Regions from separate parts of the Homo sapiens genome. Here region 1 is linked to region 2. Evidence: promoter capture Hi-C in 16 types of primary human blood cells and fetal thymus (Javierre and others, 2016). All regions are on one chromosome and are shown on one strand. Each heading gives the region's core, a stretch centred on a gene start or on the middle of the fragment in contact. The rest is flanking DNA. Distances are from core to core; before and after follow the strand shown. Region 1 holds the start of NIN (ninein). Region 2 holds the start of ARID4A (AT-rich interaction domain 4A).

Region 1 (6,604 bases), core at 1,483-3,982, 7.5 Mb before region 2:
ATTCATAAATAGGATAAAAATCTTTTTGCAAGCTTCACTAAGTCTCTCCATAAGCCCCTGCCCAACAGATGCAAGTTCAATAGCTAGAATTCAAACCAGATAATTTATTGGCTTACAAATGAATTGGCATCTATAAAAATAAGCCTTCTAAAAAGGCTTCACGCTGTTTAAATCCTTCTAAAATGCTCTGGCTAAGCTTGCCCACCCTTTATCAATGTAAGACTGATAAAATGCATTTTCATTATCAACATAAAATGGAAGCATCAAGATAGTTGAAATGTTAGTTTAGAAAGTCATTTGCAGTGACATTTAAAACAATTTATTTGAACATTTGACTCATGATAAGAATACTGCCTATTACATTAAGATTGGCTGTTCAGAATTCACTGGAGCCCTATTCTCCCCCTCTGTGACAGTTAACATCTTTTGATATTAAGGGTCATTACACATCTAAAATGAAAAAGAAATAAGAAAAAAGAACCCCACGCCATTCTGAGCAAGTGCCTATTAAAATGACTGATCCTTGACATTTTAATGCAGACTGTATGATGGCTTCCTCTCTATTGCCCCCTGTGAAGCCTTTCCCTGTATTGGTAATAACTTTGCCGATGTCCAACCCTGTGGAACATTCATCCTACCTTTTCCCCACTCTGCAGAATGCTTCCCTCTAAAGAATCACCAGAGAACAGGGAAAATAAACAAATCTGCAAACAAATTCCCGGGCAGTTCACATCACCTCCCAAAGGACACTGACAATAGCTGAAGAGACCACAACACACAAACTCGTTTTTCAGCCAGCCTGTAATGTTCCTCCTATACACACTCTGGAAATCCTCAGCTCCCTTCAACTCCGGAGCAAGAGCCACCAATATTCCAGGTCAGCCACCTATATAATATGCTCACCACGAGAGAAGACTCAAGGTAAAATTAAACTGACAGAAAAAAGGAATTTTCCTTGTTAGATCATCAAGCCTCCGGAATCATGCAAACATGTGTGTATGTTATGGTGTTTACGGGGACCTAACTGAGAAACGTCGTGGTTCCAGGGGCTTCCCTCATGTGTCAGGATGGACTTTATCAGGATTCTCATCCTACAAAGCTACCATGTCAGTCACAAAAGACAACTACGCAATCTGTTTCGATGTAATAAATTCAGGAGTTGAGCTGTATGGCAAGCCCATCTTAGAAGTCCTCAACACCAGGAGAGGATCTGTCCTAGTTAGGAGCAGAAAGCAGATCTCATAATATCCAAGTTGTCTGGAAACATGATATATGGTAGGGCAGTCTTTCCAGCTCCCATTTTGTTGGTGCCTTCACCTCGGGTTGTCAGGGCTGGGGTTAGGGAAATTGCCTCTTTCCGTCTCTATCTCTTTTAACTTCGCAGCGAGAGCTGGAAGCAGTGACTGTTCCCATCACCTAGTGTCCTTCTGTCAGGGGCCGCTTCGGTAGCTACAGAAGCCTAGCCGCTGGAAGCTTCCTTCCCCGACACTCCATACCTCCATGCCACACCTTTTAGGCAATAACCAAATGTCATTTTGTTCTTTCCCCTTCTCCTGGGCATTATACTGGGAAACTGTTTACGCGCATCGACCCCGCACACCTCCAAAAATCTCCACTTTCCGGGCTCCAAGCAGCTCTCCGCTACTCAGACAGCCCAGGCTAACACCTCGGATTTCCCCATGCAGTTTCCTCTGCAGCGTCTCAATCACAAGGCTGTACGGGCGGCACATGCCAACGGAACCACCACCCCTTCTGCTCCCTCGGGGACTCAAGCCTGCTCTCGGTCAAAGCACAGAAGCGGCTTTCAGCTCCGGGCAGGCGGCCGGGGCGTCGGGGGTACTGGAAGTGCCCAAACCCAGCGGTGCTGCCGCGCGGGGAAGCGGAGGTGCGGCCGCAGGACAAGCGCGCCTCCCAAGTCCCTGGCCACCTGCGATGCGTCCTCAACTCGCCTGCCCATCGCCACTACCAGAAACCTCAGACAGCCCATTGTGTGGGCAGGCAGCGCGCTCCCCCGGCCCCGCCGCCCTCGCCTACCTTCTGTCGGTCTCTCCGGAGCGCCCGCACAGCCGGCAGCCCGCCTCCAGCGCTCTGCAAAGCGAAGGAGGACGCTTTGTTAGGGCTGGAGAAACGGGACAATACTTCGCAGCCGGCGCAGCGGTTCCGGGCGGGCGTCCTTCAAAAGGACGCGAATGGGGACCCGCGTGAGCGTCATTTCCATATGTAAGGGGCCAGCTCTTACAAAAGCGCGGCTCTCGGGGGCCGCGGGCTGCAGCGCGCATCCTCCCCGCCCCCGCCGGCCCGCCCCCGCCCGCGCAGCCCGCGCCTCCGGGACCGGCCCCTCCTCCCGCCTCCGAAGCAGCCCCGTCCCCGCCTCGTCCTCCCGCCCGGCCGCTGCTTCCTCCCGGCCCGCAGGGATTGCGCCCCGCTGGCCCCGGACCCCAAATGGGAAGCCCCCGAGTGATCCGGTGCCCAGTTCGCTCCGGGCTCTCAGGGCCTCGCCGACGGCGCGGGGGCAGCGCGAGGCCTCCGTGCACCCCCAGGCCGTGGGTCCGGGTCCCCGGGGTTGCGCCACTTACTGCGTCCCGGGGCTCAGGCGCCCGGCGCCGCCGCGGGAACCATGGCCGCTGGCGCACTCCGGGCTTGGCGGCGGCAGCGGGACGGCCGCGCCCAGCGCGCTCGGCTCCCGGCTCGGCCGCGGCCACCCGGAGCTCTGGACGCCGGGGAGGAAGGGCCGGGCCCGCGCGGGGAGGAGGAGTCAGGGCGACGCCGGCCCCGGCGCGGCTCCTCCTCTGCGGCCCGCGCGGCTCAGGCAGCGGAGGGAGGAGCGGGCGGCGCCGCCTGAGCCCTCGCAGACGCGCCCTCCCGCTCCGAGCGCCCGCCTCCGAGATCTGAAGTTAGAAACGCCGGGGCTCCGGGTGCGGGTGTAGGAGGCTGGCGCCCCGAGGTCGCCACCGAGCTGGGGCTGGCGCTGCCACCCTCGCCCCTTGCCTGTCCGCCTCCCTTTCTTTCCCAACACGCCTACACTCACCCGCACCGCGGACACTCGGGCCGCAGCGTCTTCGCGCAGAGGAAGGGCCCCCGCCTTCAGCAAGCGGGACTTTAAGGGGGTGATTTCCCAGCCCTCGGGTGTCGATTGGCCATCAACATTGGAAAGGGTGTTCAGGAGGCAGAAGGGCTGTAGAAGTGACTCGGAACCCTGTAGAGCGAGCGCGACCCTCCTGCCGGGTCTACACTGGCTTCCGCACCTGCCCACCACGTCCTCACAGGCTCCCGCCCCTGTGCAGCCTTCTCCGGGTGAAGCTAACCCTCGGTCGCAAGCCACACAGGACGAAAACTCCTTGGAGTTGGTGGTTCCCAGCCCAACAGTTGCTCGATATTAATCGCCTCCTACCTACTACCCCAGAGTCTGCGTTCTCACTCCCCCATCCCTACACTTCTGATCTCATTGCAGTCAAATAGGATCCCAAGTCCAGGCCATGGTTCTTTTTGAGCTGCAGGGTTAAATGTGTTGCCCTTGAAGGATCCGCCTGATGGATTACAACCCACAAGTCTGGTTATTTTAGCAGGAAACTGGTGATTCCTTTTCTACCGAGAAAGCAAGCAACAGACAAGAGGAAACCAGCATTCCTTGAGAATCCAGTGCGCTAGAAACTCGACAGAAATTATCTTATCTAATTCTCACATCACTCTTAGGAGGCAGACATTATTTTGCAGATGAGGAAAATGGATCTCCCAGAAGTCAAAGAGCTTCCTCAGGATCACACAGCAGGAACTCCACAGAACTGAGATTCAAAAGCAGATCACATATGTGGCAAAATTGCATAGAACTGAATATACACTCACAAATGAGAGCACGTGAAACTCATGAAATTTGAATAAGACATTTGGACTACACTAATGTCCATTTACTGATTGTAATATTGTTCTACAGTTATGCAAAATGTTACCATTGAGAAAAATTAAGTGAAGCGTCTATAGGGAATCTCTCTATTATTCCTTACAACTTCAAGCGAATTTACAGTTACCTCAAAAAATTTTTTTAAAAATTTTAAACATCTCAGTCTTATTCAAAAGCCCAGGCTCTCTTCTTTCAACACGGTATATAAGCGTGCCTGCAGAATAAGAGAGATTTATGCTCCTCTCTCCTTTTTAAACAGTCTTGAATAAGTACACATACACACACAAACACACACTCATACACTGTATGCATGGTTGTTCAGTCATCCAGTAATATGATACAACACACACACACACACACGCAGTTCATTAAGAGGATAGCTAACCTGTTACCAGAATACTTACATAGAGGTCATCTTGTAAGACAGACAATAATGCTCACTGGGCACTAAAACAGCCAACAGTCTTGGAAGGTAAGAATGAAGAGGTGTCTTTCTTGTTTCACCTAATCTCTGCCATGGAAGCCTCATCCTACTGGTTACCTCTCCAAGCATCGCTTTTTAACCTGCAAGAATCCTTAAGGATGATATTGATCATTAGTTTAAAACAGTGATTCCTGGGGGTCAGGGGATATTGGAAGTGGCATTCACTCCCTGTGCAGGAAGATCAGAATTGCTGGGGGTTGTGTAATTTGAAAAACACAAGATGCGCTTTCTTGAGAGGAGTAAGTGGGGTGGAGTTAGCCCTGGGACTGGGAACTGGGATCACCTCCAGCCTTGCTACAAAGGAGGGAAAGCATGGAGCATGGTTACCGCGTGGTGTGGGTTGGCAAGAGCAACTCTACCAAGAAAGATGATTTATTTAACACAATGGGCCTGCAGTTTGGTTTGCACTGAGCACATGGTTAGTCTTAGTCCAAACTGGAGTCATGGGAAAAAAAAGCAGAGACTTCCTTTAGAGCCCATTACTTGATCTTTTCTCTGTTAAACACAAAATAACAGCAGAAGTAGCAACCAGGCTCCAGTTCTACATTATAACCAATATAAGAGAGAAAAGAAGAAATGTAAATATTTATTCAGAGTTATCACCCTTTACAAACAAAACTTCACTCTTATCTGTTGCAGCTTATCTGACTCTGATTTTTACTCTCACTTTACAAAGAACCTTGTTCAAGGACCTAGGATCCTTGAAGTATTTGTACGTGAAGTTTTTGAAGGGTTTTCTGCCATATTTCACAGTACGGAACTGGCTTTCTCAGATGGTTAAAGCTCTAAAACGTTAACTAAAGAATAATCCAGGGAAGAGAAAGTTACTCTTTGTTTCTTTTCTTTCTTTTTATTTATTTATTTATTTATTTTTTGAGATGGAGTCTTACTGTGTCGCCCAGGCTGGAGTGCAGTGGTGCAATCTTGTCTCACTGAAACCTCCACCTCCTGGCCTCCTGCGTTCAAGCGATTCTTCTGACTCATCCTCCCAAGTAGCTGGGATTACAGATGTGCACAACCACATCTGGCTAATTTTTGAATTTTTAGTAGAGACAAGGTTTCACCATGTTGGTCAAGCTGGTCTTGAATTCCTGACCTCAAGTGATCCTGCCTCGGCCTCCCAAAGTGCTGGGATTACAGGCGTGAGCCACCACGCCTGGCCTACTCTTTGTTTCTTCTTGAAGTAATTTTGAAATTATCAGTTTAGAGTCAAGACGACAAATGAGAGAGAGAGAGAAAAAGAGAGAGAAAAAGTCAGGCTTTGTAAATTTCCTGGAACCTGAAAAGTTATTTTTTTTTTTCTTAGCCAAAAAAAGGCTCTAACCAAACATAGTCTACCCTCTCCCAACTCACAGTTGGGTATAAACTATTTTTTATTCACAGAATAGTCAAACAGCCTGTCACTCATGTAGCAACTCCTGGCTCCTTCTAAACTTCTTTAATCGATATCTTTCTTATTTCTGTGACCATTTGAACTCAGCAGGACAGTTTTCAGGCAAGTTGCAGAGCTGTGTCAAAGACAGCCAGATTGTTAAAGTAGATGATCAGTTATAGTTTGGCCCAGGAACTCACTCGGTGAAAGAAAGGGACATCAATGATCTCCCCAAGGCCCTAAGGAAAATGAATGAGGAAAGGAAAAAGGGAGAAATTTGAGTTCCAGACATACAAGTCAGGGACTTAAGAGTTCCAGCAGCAAAATGTTGGTGGTTAAGAACCCAGGAAGAAAGAGGAAAAGTATAGGAAAGGGAAGGGAAGGTGACAGAAGGCAAACTGATTTACACTTTTGCCCCTGGGGGACACCTATTAGAAATTAGGATTCTCTATTCATTTTCCTTATGAAGAAAATGAAAGAAGAGGAAACCAGGATTCCATACAATTTATTTTTTTAAAGTAAGCATTGATTGCCTACCCTGTGCCTAATACTGTCCTGAAAGTCACACAATGTTCAAAATAAACATCAGGCTGGGCATGGTGGCTCACACCTGTAATCCCAACATTTCTGGGGGCTAAGGTGGGTGGATGGCTTGAGCTCAGGAGTTCAAGACCAGCCTGGGCAACACAGTGAGACCCCCCTTCTCTACTCCTCTTTTTTTATTAGCCAGGCTGGGTAGCACGTGCCTCTGGTCCCAACTTCTCAGGAGACTGACATAGGAGCATCGATTGAGCCCAGGAGGTCAAGGCTGCAGTGAACAACGATTACACCACTGCACTTTAGCCTGGTG
Region 2 (7,293 bases), core at 2,922-5,421:
GAAGTCGTAGTCAATGGAGAGAGGTCAGGTGAATATGGCGGATGAGGCAAAATGTCACAGCCCAATTTGTTCAACTTTTGAAGCATTGGTTGTGCAACATGTGGAAGGGCATTGTGAAGAATTGGGCCTCTTTCTGTTGACCAATGCTGACTGCAAGCGTTGCAGTTTTTGGTGCATCTCATCGATTTGCTGACCATACTTCTCAGATGTAATGGTTTCGCCAGGATTCAGAATGCTATAGTGGATCAGACCAGCAGCAGACCACAAAACAGTGACCATGACCTTTTTTTGGTGCAAGTTTGGCTTTGGTAAGTGCTTTGGAGAATCTTCTCAGTCCATCTACTGAGCTGGCCATCACCAGTTGTTGTATAAAATCCACTTTTTCTCGCACATCACAATCTGACCAAGAAATGGTTTGTTGTTGCAAAAAATAAGGGATAAGGACACTTCAAAACAATGACTTTTTTTTTCGGTCAGTTCATGAGGCACCCACTTATCGAGCTTTTTCACTTTTTAATTTGCTTCAAATGCTGAAGGACTGTAGAATGGTCCACATTGAGTTCTTCGGCAACATCTCAAGTAGCCTTAAGAGGATCAGCTTTGCTGATTGCTCTTAACCGGTAGTTATCAACTTCTGGCGACCAGCCACTACGCTCCTGATTTTCAAGACTTTCCTTCCCTTTGCAAAATTTCTTGAAACTGCCAGGCACAGCGGCTCAAGCCTGTAATCCCAGCACTTTGGGAGGCCAAGGCGGGCGGATCACGAGGTCAGGAGTTCGAGACCAGCCTGGGCCAAGATGGTGAAACTCCATCTCTACTAAAAATACAAAAATTAGCTGAGCATGGTGGTGCGTGCCTGTAATCCCAGCTACTGGGGAGGCTGAGGCAGAATGGCTTGAACCCAGGAGGCAGAGGTTGCAGTGAGCCAAGATCATGCCACTGCACTCTAGCCTGAAAGAGCAAGATTCCATCTCAAACAACAACAACAAAAAAACTTCTTGAATCACCACTGCACTGTAAGTTAACAGTTCCTGAACCATATGCATTGCTGATATGGTGTCTCTGTTGTTTTACAACCCATTTTTAACTCAAAAACGAAAACTGCTCGAATTTGCTTTTTTGTCTAACATCATTTTCATTGTCTAAAATACACATGAAGGCTGGGCACGTGGCTCATGCCCGTAATCCCACCACTTTACGAGGCCGAGGCAGGCAGATCATGAGGTCAGGAGATCGAGACCACCATGGCTAACATGGTGAAGCCCCTTGGCTCTATTAAAAATACAAAAAATTAGCTGGTGTGGTGGCACGCGCCTGTAGTCCCAGCTACTCGGGAGGCTGAGGCAGAAGAATTGCTTGAACCTGGGAGGCAGAGGTTGTAGTGAGCCGAGATGGTGCCACTGACTTCAGCCTGGCGACAGAGCGTGACTCTGTCTCAAAAATAAAATAAAATAAACATGAAATAAACAGAGAGTAATAAGTCATTACCAAAAGAACAAAGCGAGAAATGCCCATTAAAATGATGTATAACATAACCACATTTATTTAACAACGTAGTCCAACATCAAATGGCAAATTCCAATAATGCAAAAACCACGATTACTTTTGCAACGACCTTCTTAGACACAATATTTTGCAAAACATGTACAAGGATATTCACTGACATATTACTGCCATTATAGAAAAATAAACACGTTACATAAATTATGATATATTTATCCCACAAAACACTATGAAGACATAAAAGATGCTTTACGATAAGATATTTCCAATATTCCCAATGTTTTCTATAAAGAATAGACGGTAATGAACAACACTAGAATATTTGGTAAAACAAAACCAACAAAAAAGACAAAGCCTTTTGTATAATATATAACTATAGTGTAAACCGTAACTACCTTTTGGAGGAGGGAAGACATTTTTGTATTCTTCTTTGGGCTTTTTAATAATTTCCAAATGTCCATGCATTATTTGGATTCAATAATAACAGTTTAAACTTTGATCGTAGAATTATGGATGCTTACCCCCTAGAAAATTCAGTAATATATTGTTTTATAAGGTCTTTTAAAAAACTGCTTCACTCCTACGAGATTGCGCCACTGCACTCCAGCCTCGATGACAGAGAGAGACTCTGTCTCCAAAAAAAAAAAAAAAAAAAAAAAAAAAGCCTCACTCCTAAACACTCCCATTTACAAGATCTTTTCTATATAAGAACTTTTTAAATAGGCGGGTGGGGGGGAGGAAATCACAAAAATACGCATAATGTTTTATAACAAAAACATGAGGTATATCAAAGTCCAGAAATGAGAACCACGTAAATGGGTAAACAAGTCCATAAGGATGTCCTAATTTTGGGATTTCATTCTAAAATATTACACTAGAAAGCTAATTATACAGACTCATTTGAATCTGACCAAACAAAACATCTTTTAACTACCCTTCCTCCCATTCTGGTATTTCTTTACTAATCCATAGAAAGTTTTTCCAGGTAGTCCCCCGCAATTCTAAGGATTTTTAGACTTTATGACTCACCTCAGTAATCACTGAGATGTTCTGTTTTCTTCAGCACAACTGCCAAAAAACCCAGTAATTGTTAAGTCACACAATCATTTTCTAGTTATGGGCGCCACCAATATAGCAGTAGGGTTTAAAACAGAGGTATTGAGGGTAACTATTAGGATCTATCCAGTGTGACTAGGTCACTCACTAGAAATGCCAACATGCATTTCACGTTTTTATGAATACTTTTGAGCAAAATTACTGTTACGAATAAAAAACTGATTCTGCTCGGCTGTTTTCTTACTGAGAAAATTTAGTCCACGTGGATTACTGACGATATGTCACATTTTAAAAATTACTCCATTCTATAAAACTAGTCAATTTTATACTCCAATTCCGCTATTTAAAAATGTGTGTTTCGTTTAACAGAATATAAGATGTTAACAGAAAAAGATCAACGTCTATCTTATCGGGGACGTCCTTTTGTCTAAGATGTTTTCAGTCCCTGCAAAACCACTGTTTGCTTTCAAAAAGTAGCATAAGCCTCGTGCAGAGTGACAGACCCTTGTCTAAGGTCACAGAAGAAGCGTCTGCGCTGGCAAGTAAATTCCTCAGCATCCAGAAAGCCAGCGCTTTCTCCAGTTTCCTCATAGCTTTATCCCGTGAGGAGCACGCGGAAACCTCTACCCATGCAGGATGTTTCTAAGAACCACTTCTTCCCTGTCTTAACTAAGAAGGCTCCCACAGCTGGTGCCAATCAGGTGGAGAACATGGCAAGTCCCCGAAATGCACTTCCAAAGACAGGAAAGATTGCAGTGGGACAGAACCCAGAAAATCTCTCACATTCTCGAAAACCCGAAAGAGAACCTCCAAGAAAGACGTTTGCCTCTCCTCCACCTCTTTATCTCGGCGGGAGAGGAAGCCTCGCCCCCATTCATCCCGCCCCTTCTCCCCACCCCGCCGCAGGGAGAAGTTTACCATGGCTGCCTGCGGCCCCTTCACTTCCGGTGCCGGTGCCGCTAGGGCTGCGCCATCCCCCCAGTCAATCGGACAACCATAGCCTCCAACTGACCTTTCTGACAGCTCTGAGACTCCTCCGGCCACGACTAGGTGCTGTCCTGGAGGAAACGGTGGAGGACGGCCGCACAAAAACCAATCTACCTGATGAAAACTCCGTTCCCTTCTCGCCAGAAACATAAAATGCGATGGAGCTACGGCCACCGCTGCCGAGACAAAATGGCGCCGACAAGCTGGTTTAGCGCAAGCGCCTTGGACAGACCCTGCCCCGCCCCCGTGCAAGCCCCTGGCTGCAATTCTGGGTTCCGTTTCCATGGGACACTCCGCCGCCAATCCTCGTGTCGAACTGCTCTTCCTGACCCCTCAATTCACCAATCAGTGCCCAGTCAAGCACATCCGGAGTCGTCTCTACCAATCATTTCTCAGGACTTGCTTACTCAATAACCAACTCTCCAATAAAGTTGGTTTTCGGAAAAAGCCAATCATAAGTGGAAGATGTCCTACCTGCTGTTTTTCTCACCAATCCATGAAGTTTCACAGCTACATCCAATGAGGACGGCAGGTAGCGAGGTCCTATCCGAAGCTCTTCGGCGTCATGAGCAGCCAATAGGAGTTCGTGTAGAAGCGAGTCTGCTCAACAGCTTGTTATTTGGTGGATTGTGGCAGTAAATCGGGGCGAGTGGGGAACCCGGCGCAGGAACTGCAGCCGCGGCTGGGAGTGGTGCTGCCCGGACGGGGGCCCACGGAGGTCAGAGGGGAGGAGGACTCTGGAGCTGACAGCGCGCACTTCACCCGCAGTTGGTAGGTGGGGAGAGGGGAATCCGGGGATACTGAATGGACGAAGTGGCAGTAGCAGCAGCTGCTGCTGCCCGAGGTCCCGGTGCAGTTGGAAGCTTTGGAGGTGGGGAGAGGGATGCTAGGCAAGTGGCACGGCGAGCGCAAGGGAAGGGGCCAGCCATTGACCAGCGGCAGCAACTGCAGGAACCGCCGCCGCAGTTGCAGCCGCCTCCTCGTCCGCTTCCTCGGGTTCCCGGGAAAATGGCTGTGGGGCTGGCCGCGCCGCTAAGTTTGCTTCCGCGCGGTGAAGAGCGGGCTGCTTGGGGGAGCCGTCCCCCAACTCCGCGGCGCGTCCACCTCTGCGGAGTCCGTGGCAGGACTCGAGGGGCTACGAGCTGATACCTCTCTGGGCTGTACAAAAAGTTGAGGCGGGCGCTGGGAGGAGGCAGCGGCTGCTGCGGTGCGGCTCCCCTCCCCTCCCACACCCTGTCCGGGCCACCTCCCCTCCTCCTCCCCTCCGCCCCCCGCCCCCTCCCCCACGCGGGTCCCCCGGGGCTCTGGCGGCTCCCGGCTGAAGGCCGCGGCCCCTGCCCCTTTGGGTGAAGGAGCGCTTCTCCTTTCTGACATGGTGCAGAGCGAAGGAAGGAGAGCAATGGCGCCGTGACACTCCGCTGCCGCCACCGCGGGCCCGGGGCGGGCCGAGGGGGCCGAGCGGCGGAGGCGGGGCGCGGGCCGAAGTCGGGGTATCCGGGGGACCGCGGAGCGGAGGCTCGGCGGTCGTCTCCGCGGGGGACCTGGGGAAGCCCGAAGGGAGCTCTGGCCTTTTCCGGAGCTATCTGTCCTGGAGCTCCGAGTTGAGCATTCCGGGTCAAAGTGGCCAGCGAGGCGGGGGCGCGGTGGGCCGCTGGCGAGCTCCGGGGCGGAACGGGCTGCCCTTTGGCGCTCGTGGGGTTCTCGCTGCCCCCTCAGCTCCTGCGTCCTGGCTGCCCTCGTAAGGGGTCTTGTCCCTTGGCTGGTGAGGATTCTGCCCCTCCCCGCTGGCGTTTGTTTACTTTCTTTCCCTTGGTCGCTCCCCGCAGTTGACTGATTATGTCTGTGCCTGTCTTTCCCCCTCCCCATAGTTCTAGCGACTGCGAAGATAGCTCGCTGAGCTGGAACCCCACAGATCACCAACAAAAATGAAGGTAAGTGGAGTCAACTCTGCCCCGATCCTCGCGCCCTGAACACTGCCAATCCTAAGGCTAGTGCCGTGGAATGTCATTTGTTTTGCTACTCAAAATTGATGTTCCTACTGATCAGCAGTTTCGGCATAGGAGGATGTGTTGAATGGGTGAAAAATGATCTGTGTGTCTAAATGCGGAGTTTAGGCCCTCTCTGTAGCAGTACTTTGGAAAGGCTGGTGCAGCCTTTCAATTGTTGTCCATTCGGATAGTATTTTTAAACACTTCCTGTGTTGGCAGCAACCTTTGCAGAAGTAAAGCTTTTGTCCTGCTTTGGTTCTTTGGGGGATTTTTTGTAAATTTTTTTTCTTCCCGTGTGCCAATGCGATTTTCTAAAAGAAAGAATACGTGGATTAAGTAATGAAGGTATCATTTCTTCTGTGTGTAAAATGAACTTATGTGGCTAAAATATTTGAAGTTGAAGTATAATAATAGTTTTAGTTAAATCTTTCCAATAAGTATTTTAAAACATATACTAAAAAGATACATATTCTACTGAGGATGACTGCAAATATCAGTATGTGGATGGTTAAAGGGAAAGGATCTCATATAGCGTTCTTGAATGCTGTGGCCATTGAATGTTTCAGGTCAGATTTTTGTTTGCCAAAAGCATTCCTATTCAATTTGTATTTTTTGTAAATGCACTTACTTTAAAAGGTACCCAATTCCTGTCTTATTTACTGTTTCAGCATATTAAGCTCTGAAATATAGCATTTTCCCAAACTTTCTCGTGGTTTTCTATTTTCTCGAAGTAAATGACATATTTAACCTTCTTTAATATTACTTGGGAAAACTTATTAGAAAACAAAAAATCATTTTCTACTTCAAAACGTATCTCCAAAGTGTACACTGTTAACTTTGCACTTAACAATGTTAAGTTGAACTTGTATGGATACACTTTAACTTCCGGAAAAAAAAAAAAAAGGTAAAATGACAGATTGAGATAGCAATCATCCTGTTACTGTAAAAATTAAAATGAGTGGTAGAGTGACATTTCTTACATCTTTCTATGTATCATTCTGGTCGTGTCCATTTGCTGAAAGTAGATGTTTCTTAGTAACGCTTATTTTTTTATACTAAGAAGATTAGTGTGGTAAACTAGGTATACCTACAAGTCTGGAGCCATCAGTTCATATCTGCATTCATCGGCTGAATTCAGACTTAAAACCTTTCAAGTGCAGCTTTTAGCAAATGAATTTTCCAAATGATACTTTCCTTATGAAAAGATGTTACCTTTATGTGGCTATGTCAATAAACAATTATGTATTGTTAGTGTTAATATTAGTAGCAATATTTCTTTTAATTTGAAAAATTTCAGGAAGCTATAAATGAATAACTTAGTTTTATGATATGTGTAATATGAAATATTTTTTCTGTTTTTTTCTTATCTTTCTGCTTATATAATAGTAGAATTTTTGAAAAATTTTGTATCGAGACAAAACATTATTAATCACTGATAATTTTGAATTACAACTTTAAAACATTTTATCATATCAGGACATCAGTCTATAAAATGAAAGGTTGCTAATCAAGTATTTAGGGTATTTTTCAAATTTTCAATGATATTAATAAGCAAGTCATTTTAATATTCTTAATGCTTCAAACACAACCTTTTAATGAGACTTGAGGTTGGAGTAGGGAGGCATAGTAATGACATTCACAGTTTTATGTTCCTTTCACCAGGCGGCAGATGAGCCTGCCTACCTGACAGTGGGAACCGATGTCAGTGCCAAGTACCGAGGTGCCTTCTGTGAGGCAAAGATTAAGACTGTGAAAAGGC

What was found. The method cuts DNA at HindIII sites, captures the fragments that hold promoters and counts their contacts. A CHiCAGO score of 5 or more calls a contact.
Region 1: the fragment with the promoter of NIN here is called in contact with the fragment with the promoter of ARID4A in region 2 in 1 of 17 cell types (neutrophils); the score reaches 10.6 in neutrophils.

What each region holds. Positions count from the first base shown.
Region 1 is chr14:50,828,430-50,835,033 of GRCh38, forward strand. It overlaps NIN (ninein), which reads right to left and starts at 2,733. Exons shown (of 31, transcript NM_020921.4): 1 at 2,577-2,733; 2 at 2,035-2,088. RefSeq lists an enhancer at 1,415-1,464 and silencers at 2,035-2,154, 2,175-2,224, 2,295-2,574, 2,625-3,074. The HindIII fragment of the contact is 8,436 bases long and covers 1,472-6,604 here.
Region 2 is chr14:58,294,384-58,301,676 of GRCh38, forward strand. ARID4A (AT-rich interaction domain 4A) reads left to right here and starts at 4,172. Exons shown (of 24, transcript NM_002892.4): 1 at 4,172-4,317; 2 at 5,415-5,477; 3 at 7,197-7,293. The coding sequence starts at 5,472. It overlaps PSMA3-AS1 (PSMA3 antisense RNA 1), which reads right to left and starts at 3,754. Exons shown (of 4, transcript NR_029435.1): 1 at 3,572-3,754. RefSeq lists enhancers at 3,402-4,125, 3,422-3,841, 3,862-3,911, 4,022-4,111 and a silencer at 4,742-5,261. The HindIII fragment of the contact is 5,118 bases long and covers 1-4,407 here.